7 separate regions of the Homo sapiens genome follow, and regions 1, 2, 3, 4, 5 and 6 are each linked to region 7. The links are contacts of gene promoters, found by promoter capture Hi-C in blood cells and fetal thymus (Javierre and others, 2016). All regions are on one chromosome and are shown on one strand. Each heading gives the region's core, a stretch centred on a gene start or on the middle of the fragment in contact. The rest is flanking DNA. Distances are from core to core; before and after follow the strand shown. Region 1 has its middle 60 kb from the start of SEPTIN5. Region 2 overlaps CDC45 (cell division cycle 45). Region 3 has its middle 62 kb from the start of LINC00895. Region 4 overlaps UFD1 (ubiquitin recognition factor in ER associated degradation 1). Region 5 has its middle 44 kb from the start of LINC00895. Region 6 has its middle 24 kb from the start of LINC00895. Region 7 holds the start of ESS2 (ess-2 spliceosome associated protein).

What was found. Contacts are between HindIII fragments. The CHiCAGO score rates a contact against its expected background, and 5 or more counts as called.
Region 1: a fragment that was not itself captured here is called in contact with the fragment with the promoter of ESS2 in region 7 in 2 of 17 cell types (erythroblasts and M0 macrophages); the score reaches 6.2 in erythroblasts.
Region 2: a contact is called between a fragment that was not itself captured here and the fragment with the promoter of ESS2 in region 7, in 5 of 17 cell types (total B cells, fetal thymus, naive CD8 T cells and 2 more). The highest score is 7.8, in total B cells.
Region 3: a fragment that was not itself captured here is called in contact with the fragment with the promoter of ESS2 in region 7 in 16 of 17 cell types (total CD8 T cells, fetal thymus, total CD4 T cells and 13 more); the score reaches 44.5 in total CD8 T cells.
Region 4: a fragment that was not itself captured here is called in contact with the fragment with the promoter of ESS2 in region 7 in 9 of 17 cell types (total B cells, naive B cells, naive CD4 T cells and 6 more); the score reaches 14.5 in total B cells.
Region 5: a contact is called between a fragment that was not itself captured here and the fragment with the promoter of ESS2 in region 7, in 10 of 17 cell types (total B cells, naive CD8 T cells, naive CD4 T cells and 7 more). The highest score is 10.9, in total B cells.
Region 6: a contact is called between a fragment that was not itself captured here and the fragment with the promoter of ESS2 in region 7, in 4 of 17 cell types (naive CD4 T cells, total B cells, naive CD8 T cells and 1 more). The highest score is 6.1, in naive CD4 T cells.

What each region holds. Positions count from the first base shown.
Region 1 is chr22:19,652,921-19,655,620 of GRCh38, forward strand. No RefSeq gene overlaps it. Among named protein-coding and RNA genes, the nearest start is that of SEPTIN5, 60 kb to the right of the region's middle. RefSeq lists a silencer at 497-720. The HindIII fragment of the contact is 4,518 bases long and covers 1-2,700 here.
Region 2 is chr22:19,487,906-19,490,605 of GRCh38, forward strand. All of the region lies in intron 5 of CDC45 (cell division cycle 45), which reads left to right. Among named protein-coding and RNA genes, the nearest start is that of CDC45, 9.3 kb to the left of the region's middle. The HindIII fragment of the contact is 7,762 bases long and covers 1-2,700 here.
Region 3 is chr22:19,627,020-19,629,719 of GRCh38, forward strand. No RefSeq gene overlaps it. Among named protein-coding and RNA genes, the nearest start is that of LINC00895, 62 kb to the left of the region's middle. RefSeq lists a cis regulatory region at 483-563. The HindIII fragment of the contact is 4,083 bases long and covers 1-2,700 here.
Region 4 is chr22:19,470,013-19,472,712 of GRCh38, forward strand. It overlaps UFD1 (ubiquitin recognition factor in ER associated degradation 1), which reads right to left. Exons shown (of 12, transcript NM_005659.7): 4 at 1,675-1,796. Among named protein-coding and RNA genes, the nearest start is that of UFD1, 7.8 kb to the right of the region's middle. The HindIII fragment of the contact is 3,344 bases long and covers 1-2,700 here.
Region 5 is chr22:19,609,425-19,612,124 of GRCh38, forward strand. No RefSeq gene overlaps it. Among named protein-coding and RNA genes, the nearest start is that of LINC00895, 44 kb to the left of the region's middle. The HindIII fragment of the contact is 5,630 bases long and covers 1-2,700 here.
Region 6 is chr22:19,589,050-19,591,749 of GRCh38, forward strand. No RefSeq gene overlaps it. Among named protein-coding and RNA genes, the nearest start is that of LINC00895, 24 kb to the left of the region's middle. The HindIII fragment of the contact is 711 bases long and covers 1,083-1,793 here.
Region 7 is chr22:19,143,232-19,145,931 of GRCh38, forward strand. ESS2 (ess-2 spliceosome associated protein) reads right to left here and starts at 1,420. Exons shown (of 10, transcript NM_022719.3): 1 at 1,275-1,420. The coding sequence starts at 1,409. RefSeq lists an enhancer at 489-995. The HindIII fragment of the contact is 3,418 bases long and covers 1-1,815 here.

The DNA.
Region 1 (2,700 bases), core at 29-2,528, 510 kb after region 7:
AGAGAAAAGAAAATGTTATTAAGAAAATCACAAGGAAGATAACATATGCTTCCTATTCATTAAGTGAAAGTGGATCATCATAAAGATCTTCATCCTTGCTGCCTTCACATCCAAGGAGGAGAAGGAAGGGTGGGGTTAGCCTTGCTGCCTCAGGGGTGGCAGAGGCAGAAGAAAATGTGTTCATATGTGGACCTGTGTCATTCAAACCTGGGTTGTTCAAGGATCAACTGTAATAATGCAATACTCCCCAAATTGATCTACAAACTCAGTGCCACCTGACTTCTTTGCAGAAATGGGCAAGCTGATCTTAAATTCATATGGAAATGTAAGGGGTCCAGAATAACAAAAACAATCTTGAAAAACAAAATAAGAGCAATGTTGAGGACTCACACTTGCTGATCCCAAAACTTGCTACAAAGCTATAGTGAGGGAGACGATGTGACACTGGCATAAAAATAGACATATAGGCCGGGCGTGGTGGCTCACACCTGTAACCCTAGCACTTAGGGAGGCCAAGATGGGTGGATCACCTGAGGTCAGGAGTTTGAGACCAGCCTGGCCAATATGGTGAAACCTGGTCTCTACTAAAAATAAAAAAATTAGCCAGACTTGGTGGTGTGCGCCTATAGTCTCAGCTACTTGGGAGGCTGAATCACTTGAACCCGTGAGGCAGAGGTTGCAGTGAGCAAAACTCTGTCCAAAAAAAAAAAAAAGAAAGAAAGAAACCCCATCTCTACTAAAAATACAAAAATTAGCCAGGTGTAGTGGCTCATGCCTGTAATCCCAGCTACTCAGGAGGCTGAGGCTGGAGAATTGCTTGAACCCGGAAGGCGAAGATTGCTGTGAGCCGAGATCGCGCCACTGCACTCCAGCCTGGGCAACAGAGTGAGACTCTCTCAAAAAAAAAAAAAAAAAAAAAGACATATAGATGAATGGAATGGAATTTAGAGTCTAGAAATAGACCCTCATATTTATGGCTAACTGAGTTTTGATAAGGATGCCAAAAAGACTTAATGGGGGAAAGAGTATTCTTTTCAACAATTGTGCTGAGACAACTGGATATATCCACATGCAAAAGAATGAAGTTAGGCTCCACCTCATACCATATACAAAAATTAGCTCAGAATTGATCAAAGACTAAGTATAAGAACTAAAACTATAAAAGTCTTAAAAGAAAATAGAGGTATGAATCTTCACGACCTTGGATTTGGCAATGGTTTCTAAGATACGACATCAAAAGCATAAGCAACCAAAAAAATAGATAAATGATAAATTATTAAATAAATTATTTAAAAATAAAAGTATTCATTAAATCAATAAATGTAAATACTTTTATGCTTCAAAGGACTCTATAAAGAAGTGAAAAAGACAACACAAAGAATGGGAGAAAATCTTTGCAAATCATACATATGTAAGTCCCTGATGGAACTTGTAACTAGAATATAAAAATAACTTTTGCAACTCAATAATAAAAAGACAACACAATTTAAAAATGTACAAAGGAGCTGAGTGTGGTGGCTCAGGTCTGTAATCCCAGCACTTTGCGAGGCTGAGGTGGGAGGATCACTTGAGCCCAGGAGTTCAGGACCAGCCTGGGTGGCATTGTGAAATCCTATCTCTACTAAAAATATATACACACACACACACAAAATAGCTGGGTGTGATGGCACACACCTGTAGTCCCAGCTACTCAGGAGGCTGAGGTGAGAGAATCACCCGAGCCTGGGAAGTAGGGGCTGCAGTTAGCCGTGATGACATCCACACTCCAGCCTGGGTGATGGGAGTGAGATCCTGTTTTAAAAAAAAAATGCACAAAGGACTTGAATAGGCATTTCTCCAAAGATATGCAAATGGCCAATAAGCACATGAAAAGATGCTCAATGTCATCAGCCATCCGGGAAATGCAAATCAAAGCCACAATGAGATACCCCCTAGGATGATGGCTATAATCAAAAAGATATTACAATAATAAGTACTGGCAAGGATATGAAAAAACTGGAACCCTCATGCACTGCTGATGAGAATATAAAATGATGCAGCTGCTGTGGAAAACAGTTTGGCAGTTCCTCGAAAAGTTCAACATTGAGTTATCACAAGACCCAGCAATTCCACTCCTGGGCATATACTTAAAAGAATTAAAAATGCGTGTGGGACACAGTGGTTAACACCTGTGATCTCAGTGCTTTGAGAGGCAGGAGGTTGACTTGAGCCCACGAGTTGGAGGCTGCAGTGAGCTACGATCGTGCCACTGCACTCCAACACAGGTGGCAGAGCAATATCCTGTTTCCACATATATGTTTATAAACATATATACATAATAGTCAAAAGATGGCCATCAACTGATGAGTGGATTAAAAAAACGTAAAAGATCCATACAGTGGAATATTATTTAGTCATAAAAAGGAAAGGCCCAGGCGCTACCTAAAATATACCAAGCCCCAGGTTTACATAGGGCCCCAGGTCACACTAGGCTCTAGGTAGACACTGGACTCTAAGTAGACTTTAGGCCCCAGGTTCACAGCCACACCTCAGGAGGATACCACACCCCAGGTAGCTGTAAGACTCAATCCAGACACCAGTCCCCCGGTGGAGAATCTACGCCCCAGCTGGACATCAGGTTCCAGGTAAACACCAAGGCCCAGTTGGGTTTACTGGATCCATTGGTGGACATCAGGCACCAGGTTGGCACAGAGCCCCCAC
Region 2 (2,700 bases), core at 128-2,627, 340 kb after region 7:
GTCTCAAAAAAAAAAAAAAAAAAAAAAGAGTTCTGCTGTAAAGAAAAGAGGAGACATGGGGTCGAGAATCATTTTTACTTGTCTTTTAAAGGTTGGATGTTAGAGCTGGACCCCAGCAAAGATGAGAGTCCGCTATAAAAATAACCATAATTATACTTAATCTACAGGTGCTATAATATCGTGGCTCAGGTCACGGGTTTCAAATTTTGTATCTGCTATAACAGCTTTGTGACTGTAGGCAAGTGACTTAACCTCTGTGTGCCATTGTAAAATAAGGAGAATAACTAGACTTAATTGTTTTGGTTCCTACTGATGTTTAACAAATTACTCCAGAACCTAGCAGCTTAAAACAACCTTTTCCTTATGCTCATGGATTCTGTAGGTTAGGAATTTGGGCAGAGCCCAGTGAGGATGACATCTTTTTGATCTGTGATATCTGGGCCCTCAGGTGGGGACTCAATGGCTAAGAACTGGAAGCATGGCTCAGACATCTGCTGGGAGGGCTCCAAACCAGGACTACTGAGCCAAGCACCTGCAGGGTCTCTCCATTGAATGTGACTTCCTTACAACATGACTGCTCAGGCTTCCAGCATGAATATTCCAGTCACCCGGGCAGCCACTGCATGGCTCTCCCGACCAGCCTTGGAGTACCTCAGCATCCAGTAGCCACAAGGGAGGGGACAGGACCCCACCATGCATTGTGGCAGGGTCAAAGAAATCTCAGGCTGTGGGAATTTTGTTACTTTATTGAGGCATAATGTCTACACAATTCACTAGGTGGTACAATTCAATGAGATTTAACAAATGTATAAAGATGCAACCACCATCCCACCATGATAGAGAACAATTCCATTACCCGCAAAAAGTTTCCTCACCAGGACCATGGCTTTTTTTTAATTAAAGTTTTTCTTTTGAGATAATTACAGATTCACATGTAGTTGTAAGAAGTAATATAGAGAGATCACTTATATACTTTGCCCAGCTTCCCCCAATGGTAAAATCCTGTAGTATAATATCACGGTCAGGATGGGAGGCTAAGGCAGGCGGATCACTTGAGCCCAGGAGTTGGAGACCAGCCTGGGCAACATGGCAAAACCCTGTCTCTACAAAAACTACAAAAATTAGCCAGGTGTGGTGGTGCACACCTATGGTCCCAGCTACTTGGGAGGCTGAGGTGGGAGAATCACCTGAGCCCAGTAAGTCGAGGCTGCAGTGAGCTGTGAGCACACAACTGCATTCCAGCCTGGGCAACTGAGACTATCTCTAAAGAAAAGAAAGTCTCCTTTCTAAATTTATAAATCATGTGATTTTTCAGTTGGCACTCTAAAGGTTAGAAATCACTGTGAAAGTTCTGCCAGAAACTGAATATGTCTATTCCATTTATGCATTCAGAAACTGCCAAAATAACCCATGGGTATTGCTTTAAAAAAAAAAAAAAAGATACAGAACATTTCCAGCACTGTAAGGATCCCTCTGTTGCCCTTTTATAGCCACACCCACTTGTCTGCTGCCTGGTAACCACTAGAGAGCTCCATTTCTGTAATTTCATTTCAACAATATTATGGAAATGGAAATGGAATTATACAGTATGTAGCCTTTTGGGATTGGCTTTTTTTCGCTCTGCATAATTCTTGGAGATTCATCCATGTTTGCTTGTATCAATGGCTCATTCCTTTCTCGTCCATCAGCATTGTGCAGTTTTCAGTGTATAAATTTTCTGTTTTTGTTAGATTTATACCTGCATAAAAACAAACAATATTTATTATTTCTGCGTGCTAGCCATAAATACGTGGACACCAAAATTTAAAATACAGTATCATTTGCAGTCAGTCAAAAAAATGCATAGTCTGCTGTTGTTGGGTAGAGTTTTTTAGAAATGTCACTTACATACTGAGAGTTGGTGGTGGTGTTGAGTTCTGTTTGCTTGCTGCTTTTCTGGCTAGTAATACTTTCAACTCTTCAGAAAGGGACATTGAAGACCCCAACTCTGATTATAGATTTGTTTGTTTCTCCTTCCAGTTCTATCACTTTTTACTTCACGTATTTATAGCTCTCTTGTGCGCACACATTTAGGATTGTGGTGTCCTTTTGGTGGATTGACCCTTTTATTCACTTAGTGTCCCACTCTGTCTCTGGTAATTTGCTTTGCTCTGAAGTGTGATTTATCTGATATTAATATTGCCACTCCTGCTCTCCTTTGATTAATGTTTGCACGATATATCTTTTCACATTCTTTAGTTTCATTCTGCCTATATTGTTACATTTGTAGTGAATTTTTTAAAACAGCATACAGTTGGCTCATATTTTTAAATCATGTTTTTTAAAGCCATTCTCTATCTCTTAATTGATAAACTTAGCTTACTTACATTTATTTTAGTTACTGACATGTTAGGGCTTAAGTCTGACATTTTATTTTCTGTTTCCTGGTCTCTGTTTTTTTTATTCTATTTTTTTCTTGTTCTTTGTTATTTGTATTTTTATTTTTTTGAGATGGAGTTTCGCTCTGTTGCCCAGGCTGGAATGCAGTGGCGCGATCTTGGCTCACTGCAACCTCTGCCTCCCAGGTTCAAGCAATTCTCCTGCCTCAGCCTCCTGAGTAGCTGGGACTACAGGCACGTGCCACCACGCCCAGCTAATTTTTTGTATTTTTAGTAGAGATGGGGTTTCACCTTGTTGGGCAGGCTGGCCTCAAACTCCTGA
Region 3 (2,700 bases), core at 151-2,650, 480 kb after region 7:
GGACCTTGGGGAAGCCCTAGGACAGGGATGTAGGTACAGATTGACAGTCCAGAGCTGCCATCAGGGAGAAGCATTTGCAAAGCACAGGCTCTGCAAATGGGGTCTACTTCCTCCATCCCCCAAGCCTGTCTTCTGCTTCACTTTGCCAAGACTCTGCCTTGCCCCAGTGTTGGAGCAGGATGCCAGATGGCAAGATGGGCTTATGGGCTGGGTCTTCTGTTTGGTCGCGGCAGAGCCCATGGCAGCTGTAGGAACTTTGACGGGGAAGGGGCAGGGGCGGGAGCAAACCTGTAGCGTGAAAGTATGTGAACGCTCTGTCATGGAGGGCACCCCAGGCCGTGTCCAGGCCAGCTTCACCCTGTCTCTGGGAGAAGGAAGCCTGGTCAGAGCTGAGGAGGCTCCAGGGCACCAGGCCTTGTCCCTCTTGCGCCTGGGCGTGATGCTCCCCAATGGCGTGCGCCAGTCCTGGGACCATTGCTGCCGGCCGTGTGTCTTCTTCCAGGGTGCAGAATCCCTTGTCAAGCTGGGTGGTTTGATGCCAGCCCCTGGGCCTCGAAGCTCCCTTCCTGATGGAGTGCTGCCATTTGGAAGGGGTAACTTTCGTGGTCATTTTTTTAAATCATGGTAAAATATACATAACTACATAACATAAAATTTACCATTCTTCCTTTTCTTTTCTTTTCTTTTCAGACGGAGTCTCGCTCTTTCGCCCAGGCGGGACTGCAGTGGCGTTCTCTCGGCTCACTGCAAGCTCCGCCTCCCGTGTTCACGCCATTCTCCTGCGTCAGCCTCCCGAGCAGGGGACTATAGGCGCCCGCCACCGCGCCTGGCTAATTTTTTGTATTTTTAGTAGAGACGGGGTTTCATTGTGTTAGCCAAAATGGTCTTGATCTCCTGACCTATTGATCCGCCCGCCTCGGCCTCCCAAAGTGCTGGGATTACAGGCGTGAGCCACCGCACCCGGCCAAAATTTACCATTCTTTCTAACCATTTTAAAGTGTACAGTTCTGTGGTATTAAGTACATTAACACTGTTGTACAACCAGCACCACTGCCCATTTCCAGAAGGTCTTCATCTTCCTAAACTGTAATTCTGTGCCCATTAAACTCCCCATGTCTTCTTCTCCCAGCCCCTGGCAACCACGATTCTACTTTCTGTCTCTGGGAATTTGACGACTCTTATAATTGGAGTCATGCAACTTTTGTGTCTGGTTGGTTTTACTCAGCAGAATGTCGTTTCATCCATATTGTGGCCTGTGTCAGAAGTTCCTTCCTGTCAAAGGCGGAATGATACTCCATGGCAGGTTTACACCACATTTTGTTTTTCCACTCATCCGTGGAGAGACACTGGGTGGGTCCCTCCTTTTGGCTGTTGAGAATGATGCTGCTGTGAATGAAGTGGTTAGAAGGGGGCTTTCAGACGTGTGAAAGGTGTCTTTGGGAATTTTAATTTCAGCTCCCACAAATGAGTAAAATTTGTCTTTCTGTGCCTGGCTTATTTCACTTAACATAATGATCTCCAATTCCATCCATGCTGTTGCAAATGATAGGATCTCACTCTTTTTTCATGGCTTCGTAGTACTCCACGGTGTATTTGTACCACATTGGCTTCACCCATTCGTCTGTTGATGTTCGACACCTTATTATTATCGACTGTAGTCACCCTGCTGTGTAATAGATCTCTTTTCTTTTTTATTGATATTTCAGAATTGTGCATATTTTGGGGCACATATGATATTTTGATACATGTATATAATCTATAATGTTCTAATCAGGGTCGTTGGGTTATTCATCTCCTCAAACATTTGTTTTTTCTTTGTGTTGGGAACATTCCAATTCTAGTTATTTTGAAATATACAGTCCGGGCGTGGTGGCTCATGCCTGTAATCCCAGCACTTTGGGAGACTGAGACAGGTGGATCACCTGAGATCAGGAGTTCGAGACCAGCTTAGCCAACATGGTGAAACCCCGTCTCTACTAAAAAATACAAAAAATTAGCTGGGCGCAGTGGCAGGCACCTGTAATCCCAGCTACTCAGGAGGCTAAGGCAGGAGAATCTCTTGAACCTGGGAGACGGAGGTTGCAGTGAGCTGAGATTGTGCCACTGCACTCCAGCCTGGGCAACAGAGTGAGACTCCGTCTCAAAACAAAACAAAACAACCCCAGAAATACACAATTCATTATCGTTAACTATAACTTTCCTACTCTACTTTCAAATACTAGAACTTATTCCTTCTACCTATATTTTTTAATCCCTGGTGATCTCTTTTCTTATGGGAGCAGTGTGCGCCCTGATGGTGTAAGGTGGAAACCCGCCCCTTGTTGGAACCAGGATTGAATATCACCGCACAGGAGCTGAAGGTTCCCACCCGGCAACGTCCCCCCTTGGCTGTGAAGCAGAGAGCCCAGGGCTGCTCGTTTCCAGTAGTCCTCCTGGCAGAGCACCGCTGAGGAGGGTGGTGAGGGGAGGAGAAGATGCATTCTGCAGGGAGAAGCATCATAGTGGGGGCCGGGGACTCTCCTGCGTCTCCTAATTGCCCGACTGTCATGTGACCGATCAGTGCACTCCGAGCATTACACAGAGCAGTCATCCAAAGAGAGGCAGCGCCTCACAGCCCTTGGCTGGAGAGGAGAATGGAGGCTGGAGGCTCCAGAAATTTGGGATGGGAGGAGAAAAGGAAACAGAGGTGCCCCTTCCCCT
Region 4 (2,700 bases), core at 65-2,564, 330 kb after region 7:
TGGGGAAGTAGTCACTGCCTGACACTTCAGCTACCTAGAGTGGCTTCAGTGACCAGGTGTTCTACCGGATGAGCACAATGTGGCCTCAGGCCCTTGGGGGCACCTGCAGACAAACACAAGAATAGCAAGGGGCTGAGCAGCAAATACTGGGGAGGGCAGGTGAGCCAATCTGGGCTTTGAGGCATAAAAGCCCCCCAACAGGCCAGGTTGGGCAGGCCTAGTCAGCTGAGGTGAGGAGGCAGCATGGGAAGGCCAGGCACTAGGAGGTGCAATGGGAGTGCAGGGCTCTTGTCGGGGAGACACTGGCCAGGCCCAGACCTTGGGAAGGACCCTGGGACCCAGGCTGAAGAGGATGCCACTACCATGGCAGCATGGGCAAGGTCACCTGCTACAGCAGGAAAGAGACCTTCAGAATTTTGATTCATATTATTGTTGTTTTTTTTTTTTGAGATGGAGTCTCGCTCTGTCGCCCAGGCTGGAATGCAATGGCATGATCTCGGCTCACTGCAACCTAAGCCTCCTGGGTTTAAGCCATTCTCTTGCCTCGGTCTCCCAAGTAGCTAGGACTACAGGCACGTGCCACCACACCCGGCTAGTCTTTGTATTTTTAGTAGAGACGGGGTTTCACCATGTTGGCCAGGCTAGTCTCGAACTCCTGACCTCAAGTGATCTGCCCACTTTGGCCTTCCGAAGTGCTGGGATTAGAGGCGTGAGCCACCGTACCTGGCCAGAATTTCAATTCATATTTAATCTCAGAAAATATTAGTTAAGGCCATCCCTTCTGAACGTCTGGCGGCCACCATGATAGGGCATCAGCAGGAGAGGTGGGCTGTGCTTCAGACCACCTCCCTGGTGGCAGCCAAGCAAGCACTCCTGAGAGTTTCCAGCCCACAGCTCACTGCGGGGTCTCTCAGTATGCCTGATGTAATCCAAGCACAAAGAGAAGGACAAGCAGGTCCCTTTGTGAACTTCCCTAATGTGCCAGAGCTGGGGAGAGGAGTGAGGAGAAGAAGGAGCCAAGTGGGCCACAGCTACCTGTGTGGAACTCTCACTGCTGCAGGCTCCTCCCTACAGCACTGGCACAGTTCTGCTCACTTCTCTGAGGGGTACAGCCTTGAGGGCAGGCTCTGGTGGCTCACACGCCCTGGATATCCCAGCCCAGATCTGCAATGACATCCTTCAAGTCAACTTTCCAAAGAGAGCCTGCTTGTAAGGAAAAAGACGTCACTCCCATGGCAGCTCAGTTGAGAGATTTGGGAGACTACGTCAGAGGTAACTGAAAACATGTATGCTGTGACAGACTACTAAAAGTAGGGGAAAAGCATAAAAACCTCAAACACCCTACTTACTAGACCACCTAAAAAATACTGTTGCTCCATTATTTTTAAAAACGCCTCACCCAGGAAATCACAGATGAACAGTTCAGCTGCGCAACTATCAAAGAAAAGGCCACTCCCACAGCACAGTGGCCCACAGGTGCGTCCAGAGCCCACCAGCCCGCATAAGGCACAGTGCACTGCTCTGGATCCCTTCTCTCTCGCTGGGTCGGCTCAGGCTAAGACGCTGAGCAGGAGGAGTAGGCGGGGCCACCTGCTCCAGGGCCAGGACTCTCGAGTGCAGGAGATGTCTCTGCCTAAGTGGCTGCTCTCTAGAGACCCTGGCAGCCCCACTCACCCAGTGTGGGAGGTAGCAGATGCCCTCATCAGCCACAAACTCCAGCACGCCACAATGCGTCATGCGGTCCGAATTCTTATTGGTCAGTTTGAACAGCATGGGATAGGTAATGTTAAGTCGGCCTGAAAATAAGAGAGAGACTATGAGGCACAGCTCCTATGAAGGGACACCTGTTCGGCCCACGCCTTCCCATAGAAGGAGCCTCCCCACAATCCTGCCCTCAACCCCACACTCCTCTGGCAGATGAATCCCCCTCTGTGAGAGCACAGTGCACGGCTCAAGGAGGAACCTGGCAACTTGGTAACACAGCACTGGCATAGACTTGTGATTTTCTGAAGTCAACATTTTAAAAAGTGATGTGTTCATTCATTTATTCATAAATAATTTCAGTGCCCACCATGCCCTGGACAAAATCCCGACCTTCAAAGGTTTCTAGTTTGAAGGTAGAAACCTTCCAACAAAGAAAACCACAACCAGATGCTGCAGGTGCTGTGGGAAGAGCTGGCAGGAGGGGGCAGAGCTACTGGGCTAGGCTCCTAGAGGCCGAGTTCTTTAGGCTGGGCACTGGGCGGGCAGACCTGGGAGGAAATCCAGGCAGAGGTGGCAGCCTGAGCAAAGGCGTGGAAGGGAAGAGGAGCCCAGGCAGTTCAGAAATGGTGGATAATTAGGCAAGACAGGCTGGGGACAGGTGTGCGAGTGGTTGGGAAGGGGAGGGGCACCACACGGGGTAGAACCTAGGGCCTGGGCCCAGCGGGCAGTGTGAGCTCTCAGCAGGGTCATGACATAGGACGCCCCCTCTCTCTGATGGACCTTGAGGTGTGGGCTGAAAGCAAGGCCAGAGGCAAGTAAGCTGGACTGGTGACGTGCTGACCCAAGAGGTGCACAGGCACATAAAGGAAGGGCTGGCAAAAAGAGGCAGGAAAACCCAGGAGACACTGGGCCCCCGGGAGAAGACCGAGAAGGAACTGATGGTAGTGATGGTGTTTGCCATGTGTAAGGCCCTTGTTCAGTCTTCCCAGAACAGTC
Region 5 (2,700 bases), core at 61-2,560, 470 kb after region 7:
TGTGTGCCTGGGTGTGGCTTCCTTCCTGGGAAGGATCACTTCAGTCCAGAAGTTCGGGACCAGCCTGAGCAACATGACAAAACCCCGTCTCTACAGAGAAATGCAAAAATTAGCCAGGCATAGTGGCACATGCTTGTAGTCCCAGCCACTCTGGAGGCTGAGGCAGGAGAATTGCTTAAGCCAGGGAGGTGGAGGTTGCAGTGAGCTGAGATTGCACCACTGCACTCCAGCCTGGGCAAAAAAGTGAGACCCTGTCTCAAAAAATAAATAAAAAATAAAAAAGGAAAGGAAAGAAAATAAACAGAGCAAGGTTCTCTTCAAAATTTAGCTGCAGCCAGGTGTCGTGGCTCATGCCTGTAATTCCAGCACTTTGAGAGGCCGAGGTAGGAGGATCACTTGAGCCCAGGAGTTTGAGACCAGCCTGGGCAACATAGTGAGACCTTGTGTCTACTAAAAAAAGAAAAAATTTAAAAAACCAGGCATGGTGGCATGTGCCTGCAGTCTTAGCTGCTCAGGGAGCTGAGACGGGAGGATCCCTTGAGGCCAGTTCGAGGCTGCAGTGAGCTGCGATTGTTGCACTGCACTCCAGCCTGGGTGACAGAGCAAGAACTTTCTCAAAAAAAAAAAAAAAAAAAAAAAGGCCGGGTGCGGTGGTTCCCAGCACTTTGGGAGGCCGAGGAGGGTGGATCACTTGAGGTCAGGAGTTGGAGGTCCCCCCTGGCCAACATGGTGAAACCCCGTCTCTATTAAAAAATACAAAAATTAGCCAGTTGTGGTGGCATATGCCTGTAATCCCAGCTACTCAAGGGCTGAGGCAGGAGAACCGCTTGAACCTGGGAGGCTGAGGTTGCAGTCAGCCGAGACTGCTCCACTGTACTCCAGCCTGGGCAACAGAGACTCTATCTCAAAAAAAAAAAAGGCTCAGCTGCCAGGAGCCAGCATTTTTCCTCTTCCCATCATTCCCTTTCTGCAGCCAACTCCTGCCCCTCCTCATGTGCATTGTGGGGGCTGTCACAGCCCTGTGGCTTCTGTGGGGCGGGGGCACAGCGGTGACTGCTGCCCAGGGTAGAGCTTGTGCAGAGGCTGGCTCCCCATGACCTGCCTGCTCCTGAGTAAGTCACTGACTCCCCTGCAGCTCTTAGCAAGCCAAGGGACAGGGCTGCTTGCTCTGCAGATTGGTGAGGTGAGGGACAACCCCCCAGCCTAGCGGCTCTAGTGCTGTGGGAAGGTGCAGTCTGCGGCAGAAGGGCCCAGGGACTTGGCCTGTTAAGGGCCACGCCAGGCTGTTTCCTTCATGTCTCACCTGCAGCACCACCACACCTGCCGCTGGTGGAGCCCCTCCCCCCTCACACCCCCACTTCTGCTCCTTAGCAGGTCTTAGTTCTCATTTTGCATCACAGTGGGCCATGTGGTTTTCCACAAAACAAGAGGGAGAAAGGCAATAATACAGTGGCTTTCGATTTGTTTCGATTTGTAGTAGTAAAGTCTTTCTTTAAATAAAATCTTCCCTGGTAATTGTGTCATGGAAGAAATAAGCAAAGCATCTCTAGTTGAGGCAGCCAGGGTGCCTCCCCGTGCTGGGGCGCCCCCACTCCCAAAGCCCGTATGCCCAGAGGCCCCTCCACTGACCCAGGAATTTGTAAACCCTCGCCTTGGTGTTCAGCAGGAAGCTCACACAGGGGCAGCAACAAGCCCCACCGCCACCCCAATCCCCCCACTACGCCTACATTGAGGCTGCCCTCGAGGTGAGTTCATGCATACAGAAGTCCAAATTTAGACCACACGTTGGGGGTGATACTGCCTGAGGTATGAAGATAGGATTTGTCTGATAGGCAGATGTAAAGGCTGGAAATTACCTGCATGCTAAAAAGCAAAACAGAGATTCCAGGTTCCCATGGTGGAGGGAAGCACAGAATCTAGTAAGACAAACCTCCCAGAAACTCACCGCAGCAACCAAGTTGAAGAGAGGAACAACCACAGGCCTCGAACTTCAGGAGCCCATGGTCAGGGAGAAACAGAAGATTCGGGTGCAGCAGGGCATGGCTCCCAACAGAGGCGTGAGGATGATGTGAGGCTGGGGTCTTAGGGGCTCCAGCTCCCCTGCTAATTTGGAGAGATGGGGGCTAGAGGCAGCCCTAGGAAAGGATGGGAAGGAGCTGCAGCCCCCCAGCACTACGAGTCTCGGTCCTGGGTGGCTGGCGAGCCCTGGGGCACTGTGCTGAGGGCACCGTGGGCCTACACTCGTGGCCAAGCGGCGGCCCCTGGGTGGCCTACACTCGTGGCCAAGCGGCGGCCCCTGGGTGCTCCTCTCTGCTGCCATCACCGCCTTCTGCCTGGCTTTGTGTCCTCTCCCATCCCCTGCTGGGCTCCATCCTGCACAGGCCCTTCCCATGACCCACTCCCCTTCAACCCATGTCTGCTGCTGACCCCCCAGCCTAGCCTGGGGTCCCATCCTTCCTGCTGGCCCTTCTGCCTCCCGTTGCCTCCTCAGCCCACCCTGGTTTCCCAGGCCTGCGACCGGCTTCGGACTCAGCGAGGCTCACATTCAGGAGTAAAGCTGAGGACCTGCACTCAGAGCTGGGCATTTTAAAAATCATCTTTATGAAGTTGATCAGACCAAAAAAAAAAAAAAAAAAGACAAAGAACTTGCTTGCATCACAAACATCCTAGTGTCCACCATCCCTCTTCAGAAATGAGATC
Region 6 (2,700 bases), core at 188-2,687, 450 kb after region 7:
GTCACCACGCCCAGCCCATTTTAATTTTTTTTAGAGATGGGGTCTTAACTATGTTGCCCAGGCTGGTGTTGAACTCCCGGCCTCAAGTGATCCTCCCACCTTCGTCTCCCAAAGTGATGGGATTACAGGTGTGAGCCACTGCACCCGGCCACATTTATTCCTTTTGATCGCTGAACAGTACTCCTCAAATGATTTTTTAAAAATAACTATCTTCTTCCTCATGACCTGCTGGTAACTCCTAGAACAGTGATGGAGGAGAATTATGGAATGGTCCTTCTAAGCTCCTGAATAATTAAACCAGTGAGCAGAGCCACTGTCCCATCCCGTTGGCCACACCAGACACTTGGGAATTATTTTTGGTTCCTTCTTCTACCTCTTTTCAATTCCAATAATTACCAAGTTCTATCAATTTTAATCCCCTAATATCTCTCTAATCGATCTCTTCAGTTGCTATTTAAGTAACTCTTCATTTCTTCTCACCTGTGTTACTACAGAAATTCATTTTTCTATAGTTTTGCCTTCCATCAATCCCTTCTCCATCTTAAACCAAACTGATCTTACTGAGAGGAATGTTGTGATTTCCTCTCTCTCTCTCTCTCTGGAATGAATATATACATACATACATATATATATATATATATATGTGTGTGTATATATATATATATATATGTGTGTGTGTGTATATATATATATATATATATGTGTGTGTGTGTATATATATGTATATATATTCCAGAACCTTTTCATCACCCTAAAGAGAAACTCTGTCCCTAAATCCCATTCCCCCTCCCCTAGCCCCTGGTAACCACCAACCACCATCTCACTTTCGCTCTACAAATTTGATTATTCTAGGTACCCCATATAACGACTCGTACGGTATTTGTCCTTTTGTGTCTGGCTTATGTCACTTAGCCCAATATTTTTCAGGTTTATCTATGTTGTGTCATGTGTCAGTATCAGGATTTCATCTCTTTCTGAGGCTGAATGATGCCCCACTGTGTTTATCCATTCATCTGTTGGACACCTGGGCTGCTTCTATCTCTTGCTATTGTGAAGAATGCTGCTGTGAACATGGGCGCACAAGCTTCTGTTCCAGTTCCTGCTTTAATTATCTAGGGCATACACTTAGGACTGGGATTGATGGCTCATATGGTAATTCTGTGTTCAAATTTTTGAGAAACCACCTAACTGTTTTCCACAGCGGCTGCACCATTTTGCATTCCCACAAGCAATGCGCAAAGGTTCCATTTTCTCCAAAACTGGATACAGTGAACAACAATGAAGGTTTTTGGTTTTAAACATATATACATATGTTGTTTATATGCTCTACACACATCTCTGTGTGTGTATCTTAAAATGGGTGCCAGTGACTCGCCATTCAGTTTTGGGCAACGTGGACTCTCGGTGCCTCAGTTTCCTCACCCCTAATGGAGGTACTGATACTGTTATCATTCTTGAAGTGATTGTGCAGTTTAAATGAGCAAATATATGTAAATGACTTAAGTGGGACCTGACAAATGCAGATGCTATAATGTAAGGATGGCTGATCTCATTATTGTTGTCATACTATTACTGAAAATCAGTGTGAATGAAATCTCTAAACTTTGCAATCAACACTGCTCACCTGGGTCTCCGTAGAAGCTGCAGCGAGCTGGGGCTGAGGCAGACAAGCCTGTGGACATGAGAACAGATGCATGTGCTCCTCAGACAGACAGACAGTAGGGTGTTGTGGAAGGGGTCATCTTTAGAGGCCACATACTGTAGTCCATCTCCCTCACAGAGCAGGAAGGTGAAGCTTGCCAAGCCTGAGGGAATCCTCCAGCCCAGACATCCTATGAGGGCATTGCCAGGACTTGGGGGTAGTGCCCTCGCTCCAGGCATGTCTTTTCCCCATCCCTTGAGCAGGAAGAAGCACAGCAGACAGCAGGGTGCATGCAGAGTACCTGGCAGAATCGCCTCGGTAGTGAGAACAAGCCTGCGTGATGCTGCAGGTGCCCCTGACTGTGACTGAGCCTGGCTTCACACACCTGGGTTTCCTCATGGCTGTTTTCAGCAATTTGGTTACTGTGGTCCCAGGATGCATAGCCTCTCAAGATTCCACAGAACAGCCTGGTCCAGCATGAAGGCTACACGGTGCCTGGTGCCATCTCTCAACGTGTTTGTTAAAAGGGAAGCTTTGTGGCCTCTTCATCTAATATAGAGGGCCTTCAAATTATAGACTTCCAAGTCCATAGCTATAGAGATTTTCATTTTAAAATATATGTATTGGCTGGGCATAATGGCTTACGCCCGTAATCACAGCACTTTAGGAGGCCAAGGCGGGAGGATCACTTGAGGCCAGGAGTTCAAGACCAGCCTGGGCAACAGAGTGAGACCCTGTTTCTCCTAAAATAAAAATTAAAAAATTAGCTAAGGATGGTGGCATGCACCTGTAGTTCCAGCTACTTGGGAGGCTGAAGTGGGAGGATCATTTGAGCCAAGGAGTTTGAGGCTGCAGTGAGCTGTGATTTCACACTGCACTCCAGCATGGGTGACAGAGCAAGACTCTATCTCTAAAAACAAAACAAAATAAATAAAATACAGTAAAAAATAGTGTGTTGTGTTGTGGGGTCTGATGCGGATGTCTACAGCTCTTCATTCCTAATGCATCTGCTGTTTTTCCAGCTCCCCCTGAGGCCACGGGCCACACAGGCCACAGGG
Region 7 (2,700 bases), core at 170-2,669:
GTCGGAGCTGCAGTCTGGGTGCTCCTGCCTCACAGGTCCACTGCTGTACATGCTAAGGAACTTGCTGAACCTCCTTCAAATTCTACTTCCCCAATGACTGGGGCTGGATTGAGGGAGCTTGAGGGCACTTTCTAGTGGGGTTGAGCATCCCATATGGTAGCCATGCTGCAACCTCTAACATTACTAAACACTCTTCTGAAGTCCGTGAAACCCTTCTCTCTCGCCCTTGCTAACTGGTCATTCTCATTCTCCATTGCTGGCTCCCCACAAGCCAGACCAATGTGGGTGTTGTCACTTTCATTCCACACATGACTTTCTATTTCCAATCTAAACCTTTCTCCTGGCGGGGCATGGTAGCTCACGCCTGTAATCCCAGCACTTTGAGAGGCCAAGGCGGGCGGATCACCTGAGGTCAGGAGTTCGAGACCAGCCTGGCCAACATGGTGAAACCCCACCACTACTAAAAATACAAAAATTAGCCGGGCGTGGTGGCGGGCACCTGTAGTCACAGCTACTCGGCAGGCTGAGGCAGGAGAATGGCTTGAACCCAGGAGGCAGAGGTTGGTTACAGTAAGCCGAGATCGCGCCACTGCACTCCAGCCTGGACGACGAGCGAGACTCCGTCTCAAAAAATAAAATAAAAATAAACCTTTTTCCTGAGTAACTTCAGCCAGTCACTACCACAAGTTGAGATTCCCAAGTCTGCACCTCCAGCCAGACCTTGCTCCCGAGCTGCATATCTGGGCACCCAACCGTCCGTTAAAGCCATCCATCTACATATCCCAAAAGGTGTCCCGAATTAAACAGGTCTAAAACCAAACTGACTTCCGCCAATCCCCGTTTCAGCTCCTCCTTCTGTGTGCGTGTGGTGGGGCGACGCAGGTCCACTCACTCGAGATGCTGTCACAACTGCGGTCTCTTTCCAGGAACCCCAGCATTCACACTTGCTGCCACCGCTCTTTAGAAAGCCCTCTTTGCCACCATCCTTCCAGTTTGTCAAACTCCTACTCACACTTTAACAGAAAATCTTCTTTCCCTGACCCCCGTCCCATACAAAGAGAGCCGCTCTCTCTTTTCCCTGACAACACTACTACAGCCTCTTCCACCACAGACGTCTTCCTCTGCCCTGTTTACTTGACTCGTGGGACCGTCCACACCCGGCTCCTCCACTTCCACGAGGAGACGGAGTGTCAACACCCGAGAGAGGGAACCTGAGAGGAGCTTGAAGCAGAGGATGGGCCCAGAAGTCGCCGGCGTCCGCACCGAGGTCGTACCTCGATATACTCTTCCTCGTCCAGGACCCGCTGCTTGCTCGTCGCAGCCCCAGCCTCTCCCGCCTCGCGCTTCCTCGGGGGCCTGGACGCGGCGGGAAGCAACAAGGACGACGCTGATGCGCCCGGCGTCTCCATCGCTATCCCAGGAAAAAGCTCGGGCCCAGCAGGCGCGTCACAGGGTGGAGGGGGCGGGACTGCACCATTTGCGCAGGCGCCTCCAATAGTTGGCCAATGGAAAAGCTGTGGCTCTAGAAAGCCAGCCCGCGCTCCGTTCTGACGTCACTATAAATGCTAGACTTTATTGGAAATGTAGTCCTTGTCCTGCCCCGCGCTATTCATGCTTGTCAATGCTGTGAACACGAGGGGGTGCTGTGGAGGTGGCGGGGAGGATGCTATAGGGCGTGTTCTTCACGCGAGAAATTCTGGCTTTGCAGCGTCCAAAGGCCTTAGAATTCTAATTTCCCACAAATAAGAACTATGTATGCTTCGAGATTATTCTACAAAAATACAAACCAGGAAATTTACTTATATAGGAGTTTCAAGCTTTATGCAAGAAAAGGGCCTTAAAACAATTTTTTTTTTGAGACGGAGTTTCGGTCTTGTTGCCCAGGCTGGAGTGCAATGGCATGATCTCGGCTCACCGGAGTTCCCGGGTTCAAGGGATTCTCCTGCCTCAGCCTCCCGAGTAGCTGGGATTACAGGCATGGGCCACCACGCCCGGCTAATTTTGCATTTTTAGTAGAGACAGGGTTTCTCTATGTTGGTCAGGCTGGTCTCTGGATTACAGGCGTGAGCCACCGCACCCGGCCAAAACAATCTTTTTTTTTTTTTTATAGTTATCTAACAAAAGGTGAAAGAACAAGACAGTGGTTCGATTAAGAAATGTCTAAAGATTATTCTGTAATCCCAGAACTTTGAGAGGCCAAGACAGGCGGATCACCTGAGGTCAGGAGTTCTAGACCAGCCTGGCCAACAAGATGAAACCCCATCTCTACTAAAAACACACAAAAAAATTAGCTGGGCATGGTGGTGGACGCCTGTAATCCCAGCTACTCGGAAGGCTGAGGCTGGAGAATTGCTTGAACCCAGGAGGCGGAGGTTGCAGTGAGCTGAGATTGCACCATTGCACTCCAGCCTGGGTAACAAGAGCAAAACTCTGTCAAAAAAAAAAAAAAGATTATTGGGCCCCCAAATGCCAGAGTGGGCTTCCCAGAAGAGGGATCATTCTCATTCAAGACCAGGCACGGTGGCTCACGCCTGTAACCTCAGCACTTTGGGAGACCCAGGCAGGTGGATCACTTGAAGTCAGGAGATTGAGACCAGCCTGGCCAACATGGTGAAACCCCAACTCTACTAAAAAAAAAAAAAAATACAAAGTGGTGGTAGGTGCCTGTAGTCCCAGCTACTTGGGAGGCTGAGGCAGGAA